Linked DNA regions of Homo sapiens: regions 2, 3 and 4 are each linked to region 1. The links are contacts of gene promoters, found by promoter capture Hi-C in blood cells and fetal thymus (Javierre and others, 2016). All regions are on one chromosome and are shown on one strand. Each heading gives the region's core, a stretch centred on a gene start or on the middle of the fragment in contact. The rest is flanking DNA. Distances are from core to core; before and after follow the strand shown.

Region 1 (2,794 bases), core at 104-2,603:
GCTGGTGGAGCTTGTTAAATAGATCCATTCTGGATCCCCATTCTGCACCCCCTGAGTGATGGGTTGTATTAATCCAGGTATTTATTGAACACAAATTATGTGCCCACGATGAGGGAAGAGCAAACAAAGCAGATACAGCACCACCCTCAGGGATTGGGGAGTGGCAGCAACCCTCCTGGGGAGAGGTCCCCAGAATCTGGATGTGTACTCGAGACTTTTATGATCAGGCCAGTGTTTGGGGAATGGTGGTTATAAAATGAGAGGCTGGGGCAGGGAGTGGGGATGTTCTGAGAACCTGTCCACACACTGACAGCCTCAATGGGTTCTGTGGCACCCCTGAGCCCTGGGATGGCAACTGCAAGAATTTACTATCCATGGTCACAGATCTTCAGGCCCTGTGAAGCATCCAGATCCCCGCTCTGAATAGGCCAACTGGGCCAGGACCGGGAGTCAGGAAGGTTTCCGCCTTTTTTTTTTTTTTTTTTTTTTTGAGATGGAGTCTTGCTCTGTCGCCCAGGCTCCAGGCTGGAGTGCAGTGGCACCATCTCGGTTCACTGAAATCTCCGCCTCCCGGGTTCAAGCGATTCTCCTGCCTCAGCCTCCCACATAGCTGGGATCACTGGCACGCACCACCATGCCCGGCTACTTTTGTATTTTCAGTAGAGACGAGGTTTCGCCATGTTGGCCAGGCTGGTCTCAAACTCCCGACCTCAGGTGATCCGCCTGCTTCGGCCTCCCAAAGTGCTGGGATTACAGGCGTGAGCCACCGCGCCCGGCCCCTGCTTTCTTAAAGAACACGCGGCAGCTGTGTGTTACACGCTATGGCTGAGGTCAAGTGTGAGGGCTGGAATTGCTGACTGCCATGTTCTGGGTCTACTGAAAATAGCTGCCTGGCCTGGGAGGCCCAGTTCAGTCCGGGTGTGGGTCCCGCTTCACCTCCAGAGCAGCGGCAGCCGGTAAGGGTAGAAGCGGCCTTTGGAGAGGGGTCTCTGCAGCGGCCTGGGGACAAGATGAGGGCTCCTTTGAGTCCTGGGGTGCAGGTTATAGTAGCTAAAGGGGAGGTCTGAGACAGTGGGGTCTGGCTCCAAGGTAAAGAAGGAGCAGCAACCAAAAGGCCTGATGCGCAGCGCACCCATCGCAAGCATGGGCAGTGCGTTTAAGACTGGGTGACTCACTTTTTCTCCTATAAAATGGGCGCACGCAGGCCCCAGCTCAGCGCCAGAAGGGGGAGCCCCGGCGCGCCGGCAGAAGACAAAGGAAAAAAGCGTGTTTGCAAACGGGGAAGCGGCGGCGTGCTGCCGCGAGGGGCGGGGCGGGGCCGGGGGAGGAGCCCGCCTGCCGCCTGCCAAGCCCAGTGGTCCTGGCCGTGCGCCGGAGGCAGCGGCGGCGTGGCGCAGCGGCGACAGTAAGTGCGGGCCGGCTCGGGCTCTTCCGGCTACGGTCCCGGCCGCCCCCAGACTCGCGCTCAGCGACCTCCCTCCCGGGCCCTGGGGGCGGCTGCGGGCTGCCAGGGGAGCCGCAGGACCCTACCCCATCCGTGGTCCCTTCCCCACCGTCCCTCCTCTCTCTCCTTGCTCTCTGCCACCCCTCTTTCTGGGTCTCTATCTTCTCTTCCCCAAATCCTCTCCCCTCCTCCTCCCTGAGACTGGACCTCACCGCCTGTATGGTGGGGGCCTGGTATGGACCCGTCGGCCCGAAGTATCCAGACGGTGGCTGATTCTCTCGGTCCCAGCTGCGGGGCCTGAGGCTGGGGCTGTTTACACCGCAAAGCCGGTTCTGCCGCGGCCAGTAGGCGGTGCCCTGCGCTTCCCAGTGCCTTCCCACAGGTTAGCCCTACCAGCTCCCCACCCCGGTTCACAGCCCAGGAGATCGAGGCACAGAGGGGCGAGCCACCTAGCCAGAGTCAGGAACCTCCTTGGAACCAGCACCCAGGCTTCCCAGCCCAGATGAGGTTTTGCCGCGGCCCCAGCAGTGCCTGCCTCCTTGTGTGGGGCTGTCTGTCTGTGCATGGCCGGGCTCCCGCAGGTGACCCAGGAGCACGTTCCAGGCCACAGCCAGCTTGTTTTGGGGAAGGTTGGGCACTTCCTTGCCTGCCTTTCTCTTTATTTTTTAATCCAGAAGCCAGCAGCTAGCTTTTATAAAGACTAATAAGACTTTGCTCACTCCAGTGCCCTGGCCTGTGACCCTGGTTAGAGAAAATTCCTGGCTCCTTCTTCAGAAGCTCAGTCAAGCCTTGACAAATAGACGCTAGGAACTGAGAAGGGGGCCCTAGCCAGGTGTGGTCCTGAGTGACAGGGCTGGTGGACCTTCTAGCCGCCCCCACAGGTAGCTGGAGCCTCTGGAAAGAACCACTTGCCGGTTCTCTCTTGTTCTATGTGGGTGGGTCATGATTATTTTTTACATTTTAAACACTAATTTTTAAAATGTAACAAGTGAGCTTGTTACATTTGTACCATTTTGTGCCAGACAAAATAGCATAGACTGGGTGGCTTAAACAAAATTTGTTTCTCATGGATCTGGAGGCTGGGAAGGGCAAGATCAAGGTGCTGGTTGATTTGGTTTCTGATGAGGGCTCTCTTCCTGGCTTGCAGACAGCCTCCTTCTTGCTGTGCCTTCACATGGCTTTTCCTCTATGAGTGGGTGCATGTGGAAAAAGCGATTTTCCACACAGTGAGCTTCCAGACAGTGAGCTTGTTAATGCTGGCCTCCATGCGAATCCAGGCTGGGGAGGGGCTCTGCTAACCAGGGGAGTTTAAAATAGACTTGCTGGCTGGATGCATTGCACTTGGGCATC
Region 2 (2,794 bases), core at 97-2,596, 360 kb after region 1:
CTTAGCAAGGGCATTGAGTGGGGAGCAGTTCCCTGTGTCAGGACCTCCTCCAAGCCCTTTAACGACTGACTAGAATCAGGAAGTGCTGCAGCTGGAAGGAGCCACAGAGACCATGGAGTGCAACCCCATTTTACAGAAGGGGAACCCAGAGGGGAGGAGGCTTGCCCACGAAGACATAGTCGGGTAGCAGAGCCAGGTCTAGTCCCGGAATGCTATTCTCCAAGTGCTTCCTGCAGCAAGTCCCCCACTAGGCTTCAGTGACCTTTAACCAGAGACTTTTAAATGTCCCCCCTTCCCCATGCTGCCTACCCCAAGGGATGGGACCCAGAGCCTCCATTTGGAACTTGTTTCTGAAGCAGGTAGGGATGAAGGCAAGGCTGGAAGGGTGAGCACAGGGGATACCAAGAAGAACAGAACATGTGCCCGCCCAGCCTGGCCACGGCCCCCCGTACAACCCTGTCCTGCCCTGCCCTCCCTGCTCAGCTCCAGGTGTACCCGGAGTGGTGGGGACCACTGGAGGCTCTAGAGTGAGGGACAACCTGGAAAGAAGCTTATTAATTCAGCTCCCAGAGAAGACAGTCAAGGGGTAGAGGGATCCCTGGCCCCACTCCAGGTGCCTTCTTTCCTCCTTGCTTTCATGCAACATGCATGGATTAGACACCCACTGTGGCCAAATACTGTGTTGGCCTGTAGGTATGCAGCAGCAATCAAGAAACAAGGTTCCTGCTCACATGAAGCTGACGGTCTAAGTGAGGGAGGCAGAAATTAGATAAGAAATTACCACTGGGTGTAAGGGGACCAATGGGGTATGCAACCCTAGGGCCCTAACCGGCTCCGGGAGTCAGGGAGGGCATCTGCAGGTGGGGGTGTTCCAGCTGGGGTTGGGGGTGGGAGGTAATTGTGTCTCAGCCTCTGGGAAGGCCCGGCCTCTGCATTATTCCTGCGCCTCCCACCTGCCCTCTAGATTCCCCAGGCTGCCTCCACACCCAGCACATGGAGGGGAGCAGGGCGTCTGCTGGGAGCCAGAGTGCGGCCTCCAGTTGAAGCACAAGGGGTGCCTCCTGGCGTCCTGGGCCAGGACAAGACCCAGGGCTGGATCACCCAAAAAAGGAGCTGTGAACAGGGCCAGTCTTCCCCACCCTCCCAGCTGCCCACCCTCTTCTGGCCCCCAGTCTCCTGCAGGCTCACGGCCCTTGTCTGCCCTCTTCCTTTCAGGCAACAGATGAAGACTCCCCTCCCAACAACCAGATCACCTACAGCATTGTCAGTGCATCTGCCTTTGGCAGCTACTTCGACATCAGCCTGTACGAGGGCTATGGAGGTAGGTGTGGGGCAGAACTCGGGGCCCAGCCAGGAGGAGGGCTGGGGGGCTCTCTGCACTCACACCTCCCTTGTGGGGATGAGGCGGGCACTCCTTGTCTCCCTGACACTCTGGGCTACTCAGGAAGCTGCCCGGAGCACCTGGGGTGGAGCAGGATGTGGCCTGAGTCGCCCTTCCGTAGGGTCAACATCTGTGTCCCTCATCAGCAGGATCTCTCTCTGGTTCTTAGGCCATGGCCAGCCCTGCAATCGAGCCAGAAGTGTGATGTTAACAGAATCTCTGGGGTTCTCTGTTTCTTACCAAGGCTGCAGGCAGGTCCGTGGGATGGAAGCTCTTTAGCCAAGACTCCCTACTTTTTGGGCGGCCGTGTGGGACCAGGCACTCTGCACCATGCCCTGCTGCCTGCTGTGGGTCCCCATCCCTAGAGCCCTGGTAGGAAATAGCAGCAACCTCAAGCTCCAAGATCCCAAGAGAGACTATTTTGTTTTTCAGATAAAGCAGCTAAGGCCCAGAGACAGGGAGCAACTTGCCTGAGCTCACCCTGCAAAGCTGCTGAGCTTGGCACCAAGTCCCCGTGTGGTCTGGCCCTTGGTTGCCTTGCGAGCCTCAGCTCTCAGCAGCCCTTGCCCCACCAGAGTCCAGCCTCTTTGAACACTTTGACACTGTCTCCCCTTACTGGTGTTCACCCCCATGTCTTTGCAGAGTTTGTTCCTTCTGCCAGGAAAGCCCTTCCTCCTTGCCCCTTGGTCCTGCCTCCCTTTGGCTGTCCAGTGTGTAGCCCCTGGCTAGCTTTAAGGGCTCATTTAACACCTCCTCCTTTGGGAAGCTTCTCTGATTCCTGGAGCCTGGGTTAGGTGCCCCCAGGGCAGAAGGAATCGATGTGCGTTGAGTGACTCTGGGTCCAGTGGTCATTCCTCCCACTACCCCACAGTTAGTTCAGTTCAGAGAAATGCCACTGTAGAAATTGCAGTTCTGACCAGCGCGGTGGCTCACGTCTGTAATCCCAGCACTTTGGGAGGCCGAGACCGGCGGATCAATTGAGGTCAGGAGTTTGAGACCAGCCTGGCCAACATGGTGAAACCCTGTCTCTACTAAAAATACAAAAATTGGCCAGGCGTGGTGGTGTGCACCTGTAATCCCAGATACTCGGAAGGCTGAGGCAGGAGAATCACTTGAACCTGGGAGGCGGAGGTTGCAGGGAGCCCAGGTTGCACCACTGCACTCCAGCCTGGTGACAGAGTGACACTCCGTCTCAAAAAAAAAAAAAAAAAGAAAAAGAAATTGCATTCTCTATGAAATCTACATCCCTCTGTCTTTCTTTTTTTTTTTTCTTTTTCTTTTTTTTTTTTTTTTTGAGACAGAGTTTTACTCTGTCACCCAGGCTGGAGTGCAGTGGCTCGATCTCGGCTCATTGCAACCTCCGCCTTGTGGGTTCATACAATTCTCCAGCCTCAGCCTCCCGAGTAGCTGGGA
Region 3 (2,794 bases), core at 221-2,720, 330 kb after region 1:
CTGCCTCCTGACCTGGCAATTGAAATCAGATGAGAAGGCCAGGGAGTGTCTTATCCTGGGACCCTGCTAGGCTTGGGGCAGCCCTGCAGCCTGGCCAGTGTCTGGGGCCTGGCAGGGTTTGTGGGCACCACTGGACAGTACAAGAAGTACAAGAGTAACCTAATCATTTATTCATTCATTCATTGATTCAACAAACGTTTGGTGAATACCTGCTGTGTGCTAGGCACATGGCCCTGAGGACACATGGTGATGTGAGTCTTGTACTTATAAAGTTTATAGTCTTCCAGGAAAACTGGACTAACTACGAAATGAATCTTCACACTGAGTATTACTTGCTGTGATGGAGAGATCAGGGAGTACGCGAACCTCTAATAGGGTACCTGACCTTGCCTGGGGTCCAGGAAAGCTTCCCTGAGGAAGTGGCATTTGAGTAAGCATTAACTGGTGAAGGCAGACAGGGAATAACATTGGAGAAAAGAGGCTGGGAGCAGTGGCTCATGCCTGGAATCCCAACACTTTGGGAGGCCAAGGCAACTGGATCACTTGCGCCTAGGAGTTCAAGATCAGCCTGGGCAACATGGCAAAACCCTGTCTCTGCAAAAAAAAAAAAAAAAAAATGCCAGCTGTGGTGGCATACACCTTTAGTTCCAGCTACTGTAGAGGCTGAGGTGAGAATGTCACTTGAGCCCAGGAAGTTGAGACTTCAGTGAGCCGTGATCCACTGCACTCCAGTGAGCCGTGAGCCACTGCACTCCAGCCTGTGCAACAGAGTGAGACCCTATCTCAAAAAAAAAAAAAACCACTGGAGGAGAGAACAGCATGTGCAAAGGCCCCGTGGCTGGAGTACAGTGAGGACGTGTGTGATGTGTGGGGAAGTGGGGTCCTGCTCCTTTGAAGCACAAGAGGCTTGGCTGTTTCTCTTCTTCCCAAATTGATACTCCCCACAATATGCCCTTTGGGATGCTGTTCTGATAGTGGGGAAGGCCTATATCAAACCATCCATACCCCCTTGCCTGTTCCATCCTTGTGACGGTGGCAGGCGTTTGGGAAACAGTTGGCAGAGGTGGTACCTAGGATGTGTGAGGAGCCAGCTTGGCCTCTTGCAGCATGGGGCACGTGTCCCTCTATTTATTAGCTCCATGTCCTCTGGGCAGTGGGAGAGGCGAAGTGCTGAGGAAGGGTGGCAGCCCCCCTGGCGCAGGGCTTACTGAGCTCCAAGGCCTTCTATCCCTGCTGCAGGGGGTGGGGCATGGCAGAAATGGGCAGAAGATGGACTTCAGACAAGACAGGCTTCTTCCCCAGTCGGAGGAAGCCAAGAAAGGAGAGGCCCTGAAAAGTCCTGACTGGGCAGGTGTGGGGCCCCAGGACCAGCTTGTGGTTTGCTGAGCCGTGGGTAGAGCTCCACCTCTCAGCTCCAGACAGACAGGGCTGGCTGGAGGTGGCCTAAAAGCCTGCTCCTCTCTCATCTCCCTGCCCCCTCTTCCCAGCCTGTCCTTGGGAGGCTGGCAGCATCTTGGGCAGGGCCACAAGACATCCAGGGAGTCCCTGCAATCCTGTCTTACTATGAGCTGGTCACTCCTTCTCTGGGACTTGGCTTTTTTCCTATGAAATGGGAAAGTAGTGCCTGCGCAGCCTGCAGTGCTGGGTTGTTGGGAGACCCATTGCAGTGATGTGGTGTAAACAGGTAAGATTTACAGATGGCAGGAGTGGGTATTTTCATCACTGGCCTTCAGGGTCTCACCTGGCTGCCCACCAGCCCTTCGGCCTGTGGACAAGCCCAGCTCTGCCGCAGTGGACCCTGGACAAGACACCGGGCCTCAGTTTCCTCTTCTGTGAGCTGGGGGAGATAACCTGCTAGGAGCCTACCTTGGAGGATTGTTGTGAGAATCAAATGAAATGATTCATGAAGACACAGCACAGAGGCTGGCTAGGAACACACGCTGGAAATGTCAGCAAGTCATGCCTGGCCTCCTGGCTGAGCCTCCAGGGAGCACGGGCCCTGGGCAAGGACACCACCCTCAGAGCTGTGGCCCTGCCTCAGGCAGCCATGTGACCTTGGCCAGTCACTGAACCTCTGGGTCCCAGTGAGATGACTGGGCCAGGGGCTGGTTCAGGGCCTTCTGGGTTGGTGAGGCTTTAATTCCAATTTGCACTGTCCAAGGAGAAAGGGGAGCCATTCTTGCTGTTTAGTTTCATGCCCAGCAACATGAACGTGCCACCCACCCTGCAAGGGTCCCCACCCACCCACTGGCCTCTAGAGCCCGTCTCCTGCCCTACCCCTCCTCTCTCAGCTCCCATCTGGAAGTCTCAGGAAGATTCCCCAGGACTTCACTTCCCCCTCCTAGAGCTAACTGGCTTTTCCTCCTGGTCCAGCCCAGCCTCCCTCTCCTGCCACATCAGCAGACAGCCCTGCTGCATCAATGTCAGCCCCATTGCTGTTTGTCCCCATCTCTCCTTCCCCTCCCACCCACAGCATTGACCCCACAAGGAAAAGGTGGGTATGATGTCATTGCCCTGGGCTGGCCGTGTTGAAGGCAAGCTTCAATCCTGGAGGACTTCAAATGCAGCAGGCCTGTTCCACCAGCTGTAAGGCCACAGGGCCTCTCCCTCTGCTCTGTAACTGTCAGGACACCCCCAGCCTTCAGGCTCAGAGATCACCCCTGTCCCTCCATGCTGCTGAATCCAAGAACTCTAACATGGGTTCTACTCAAGGTGCTGGAAACCTAATAGCCCAGCCAGATGATCCAGGAAAGCCAGTTCACTGCCTGTCTTAGTCTTGGTGCTCCCTGGGGCA
Region 4 (2,794 bases), core at 194-2,693, 270 kb after region 1:
CCCAAGTCCCTCGGGTTCCAGAACCTCCCAGTTTCCATGACAACCCACTAGTTCTCAAAGTGTGCTCCCCAGAGCAGCAGCATCAGCATCATCTGGGAATTATTAGAAATGCAAGGTTTTGCATCCCCACTAAACCTAAAGAATCAGAAACTCTGTGGGTGCGCCCGGGCAACACTGATGCTGCTGGTCTGGGGACCACACTTTGAGAAGCTCTGGTCTAAAGGAGCGTGTGTTCTCAATGGCGGCAAAATTTTGTACTGGGGAAGATCTTACTCTTTTAATGTTTAAAGCAGATTTACATTATATCCATGGTGTTGACATTTCATGTCGGGGGAGGAAAGCAATTACGTAAAAATGTCTAAAGTGGCTCCTGGGGCAAGGGGTTGAGTGGGGTGGGTGATGATGAAGAGAAGGTTGAGAAACCCTCTAGAATCAAGGGTAGGTGAGAAATATCAGGCCGAAACCCCTCACTTTCAACTTTCAAGGCAGTGGCCTCACTTCCAGGTCACACTGGGGCACTATGGTAGTGAAGGACAGAGCCTTCCCTTGCTTGTCTCTGAATTTTATTTTAATGCTACCCAAGTGAGGAGGTACATTGAGTGCTTTAAAATATACTGAAATACATGAAAATACACTGATTGCTTTGAAGGGAAGTCTGTGTGTGTGTGTGTGTGTGTGTGTGTGTGTGTACGCAGGGAGAATAATCAGATACAGTCAGACTTGCACAACCTCACACCCCCCACATATGCCAATAACTGAATCGGGCCTCTGGCCATGGCCTAGTGGGGGACAGCTATCATAGGAGACCATCGTGCGAAACACTTCAAAGCCCTTGTGATTAAGCTGCTTGGCATTTTCTTCCCCTGAGAAGTAAAAACTCAGGAAAAGCAGAATTGCTTTGGAACTCTGAATCGCACACCACAGCTCCTGGCTTAGGGTAGCACAATGGCTGCCTGGAAGCCCCAAACATCTCAGGGCATCTTGGGGAATGGCTCACCTGGCTGGAGCCAGAGGTCACCAGGAAGGAGTCCAGGGCAGATCAGAGAGGGGTGGCAGGACATTTGCTAGAAGACAGAGAAAGCAAAAGAAGTAGGTTATTGAGTGCAGCTGGGGTCGGGGAAGTGAACGCGGGGTCACCAGGAGATTCATCAGTTCTGGGTGGATTGGAGCAGGAAGCACTGGAATGAGGGCGATCTGCTAACAGGCTGTGGCTCTAATCTGTCCTTGCCGCGGGGAGGTCTGGGGGTCATTGTGGTGACGTACAGGAACCGAGTCAGCAGGCTCTGGTGATGTACTGAAAATAGATGATGTGGGAAAAGGAGGAGACAAAGAAACTACTAACGTCTGAGTCTAGGTTTCTCGGATCATGGTGGTGGCCTAGGCAGAAAGGGGCATATTCATAGGAAAAGCCTGTTAATATCTGTGAATGCCACCCTAGACCCACATGTACCAAAACACCCCATTCTTCATCCATGGCAGACATCACTAATTGATCCCAGCACAAGGATGGGCCTCCAAGCCTTTCTTACCTGCCCTCTGGCAGCCACTAGCAGTTGAGAAGCATTCTCTCTCAAGCTGGAACAAACCTGCTGTCCAAAGTGCAGGTTTAGCCCATTTGTATCCTGTAGCTCTCTTCTTTCAAGAGTATCTAGGGACAGAGCCTCTAGAGGGTTTTTAATTTAATTATACAAACACGCTGGCCTGTTATTTGCAGTTCTCTCCCACCATCATGCCGAGACAGCAATAATGCATCACACCAACACTCACTTTCTCCTGATGAGCCACAGAAAAGTCTGCACTTCTTCCTTCCCCCTGATCTTTCGCCCTCTTCTCTGCAGGGTGTGCTTCCTGCCAGCCGGCCTCTCCTGATGCTCTCATGAGCTCGCCTTTGTGATAAACCAGTCTTTATAGCCATGCTCATGATTCCCTGTTCTTCCTCTCTCCTTTAATGAGGTCCTGTATGCTCTTTGTCAGCAACAGTGGCTTGCCCCTTGCTTCCTTCCCATAAATAACACTGGTGGGTGGACTTTTAAGAGGTTTCACTGAAGCACAGTCTAGGACTCTCCCTTTCTGCGTCTCGTCTTCCCCATACCCTCCCCATGGGCAGGAGTCTGTCTCTGTCCCTTGCTCGGGACATAGAGTGCTGTGGAAACACCCTCAAGGCCTCTCCCTTCTGCTAGACCTGAGTCCACTTCCCCAGCTGGGCAAAGCATGGACTGCACGGGCTCTTTTTATTGGTCCACTCAGCTCAGGGAACCACATCTCTGAGCCAGAGCCATGGCTGAGGCAGCTCTGTGGGGTTGGGGGGTTTCTAGCTCATGGCTGGAGGTTGTTTTGGTGGGCGATTCTGGTTACCACATGTCAACAGGAACTTGTCTTTTTTTCTTTTTTGTTTCTTTTCTGCTTTTTCCTCAATCTGTAAGATAACTGCTTTTTATTGACTTTCAAGAGCTTTGAGATCTTTGGAGGAATAAGAAATTAGCCACCATTCAGTTTGCATTCTCTTTCTATTTTAACTTGGTCCACCTCTGGTACACAGAATTGATTTAAACGTAATTCTCGGCTCACGATTAACATTGGTCCATGTGTAGCTCTCTTTTGTTTCATTCTTAGCCTTAATAATATTGTGGATGCCTGTGAAACTCACCAGCTCACCTAGAGCAAGACCATCACCCATGCCTTACCTCGCCTTACCCACACCTTATTCATACCTTACCCACACCTTACCCTCACCTTACCCACACCTTACCACCTGTGTGTTCCTCCTCTACCCCATTCCCTGCCTCCCATCCTC

The links. Contacts are between HindIII fragments. The CHiCAGO score rates a contact against its expected background, and 5 or more counts as called.
Region 2: a fragment that was not itself captured here is called in contact with the fragment with the promoter of SLC29A3 in region 1 in 8 of 17 cell types (total B cells, naive B cells, endothelial precursors and 5 more); the score reaches 9.3 in total B cells.
Region 3: a contact is called between a fragment that was not itself captured here and the fragment with the promoter of SLC29A3 in region 1, in 1 of 17 cell types (endothelial precursors). The highest score is 5.5, in endothelial precursors.
Region 4: a contact is called between a fragment that was not itself captured here and the fragment with the promoter of SLC29A3 in region 1, in 2 of 17 cell types (megakaryocytes and naive B cells). The highest score is 6.5, in megakaryocytes.

Annotation. Positions count from the first base shown.
Region 1 is chr10:71,317,906-71,320,699 of GRCh38, forward strand. It overlaps SLC29A3 (solute carrier family 29 member 3), which reads left to right and starts at 1,354. Exons shown (of 6, transcript NM_018344.6): 1 at 1,354-1,405. The coding sequence starts at 1,405. LOC124902445 (a long non-coding RNA gene) reads right to left here and starts at 1,758. Exons shown (of 2, transcript XR_007062183.1): 1 at 1,657-1,758; 2 at 64-999. RefSeq lists a silencer at 1,151-1,600. The HindIII fragment of the contact is 7,819 bases long and covers 1-2,794 here.
Region 2 is chr10:71,678,172-71,680,965 of GRCh38, forward strand. CDH23 (cadherin related 23) reads left to right here. Exons shown (of 70, transcript NM_022124.6): 17 at 1,216-1,321. Among named protein-coding and RNA genes, the nearest start is that of C10orf105, 40 kb to the right of the region's middle. The HindIII fragment of the contact is 1,597 bases long and covers 549-2,145 here.
Region 3 is chr10:71,650,769-71,653,562 of GRCh38, forward strand. The region is part of intron 14 of CDH23 (cadherin related 23); the gene reads left to right. Among named protein-coding and RNA genes, the nearest start is that of C10orf105, 68 kb to the right of the region's middle. The HindIII fragment of the contact is 2,133 bases long and covers 405-2,537 here.
Region 4 is chr10:71,583,887-71,586,680 of GRCh38, forward strand. The region is part of intron 9 of CDH23 (cadherin related 23); the gene reads left to right. Among named protein-coding and RNA genes, the nearest start is that of CDH23-AS1, 73 kb to the left of the region's middle. The HindIII fragment of the contact is 8,272 bases long and covers 1-2,794 here.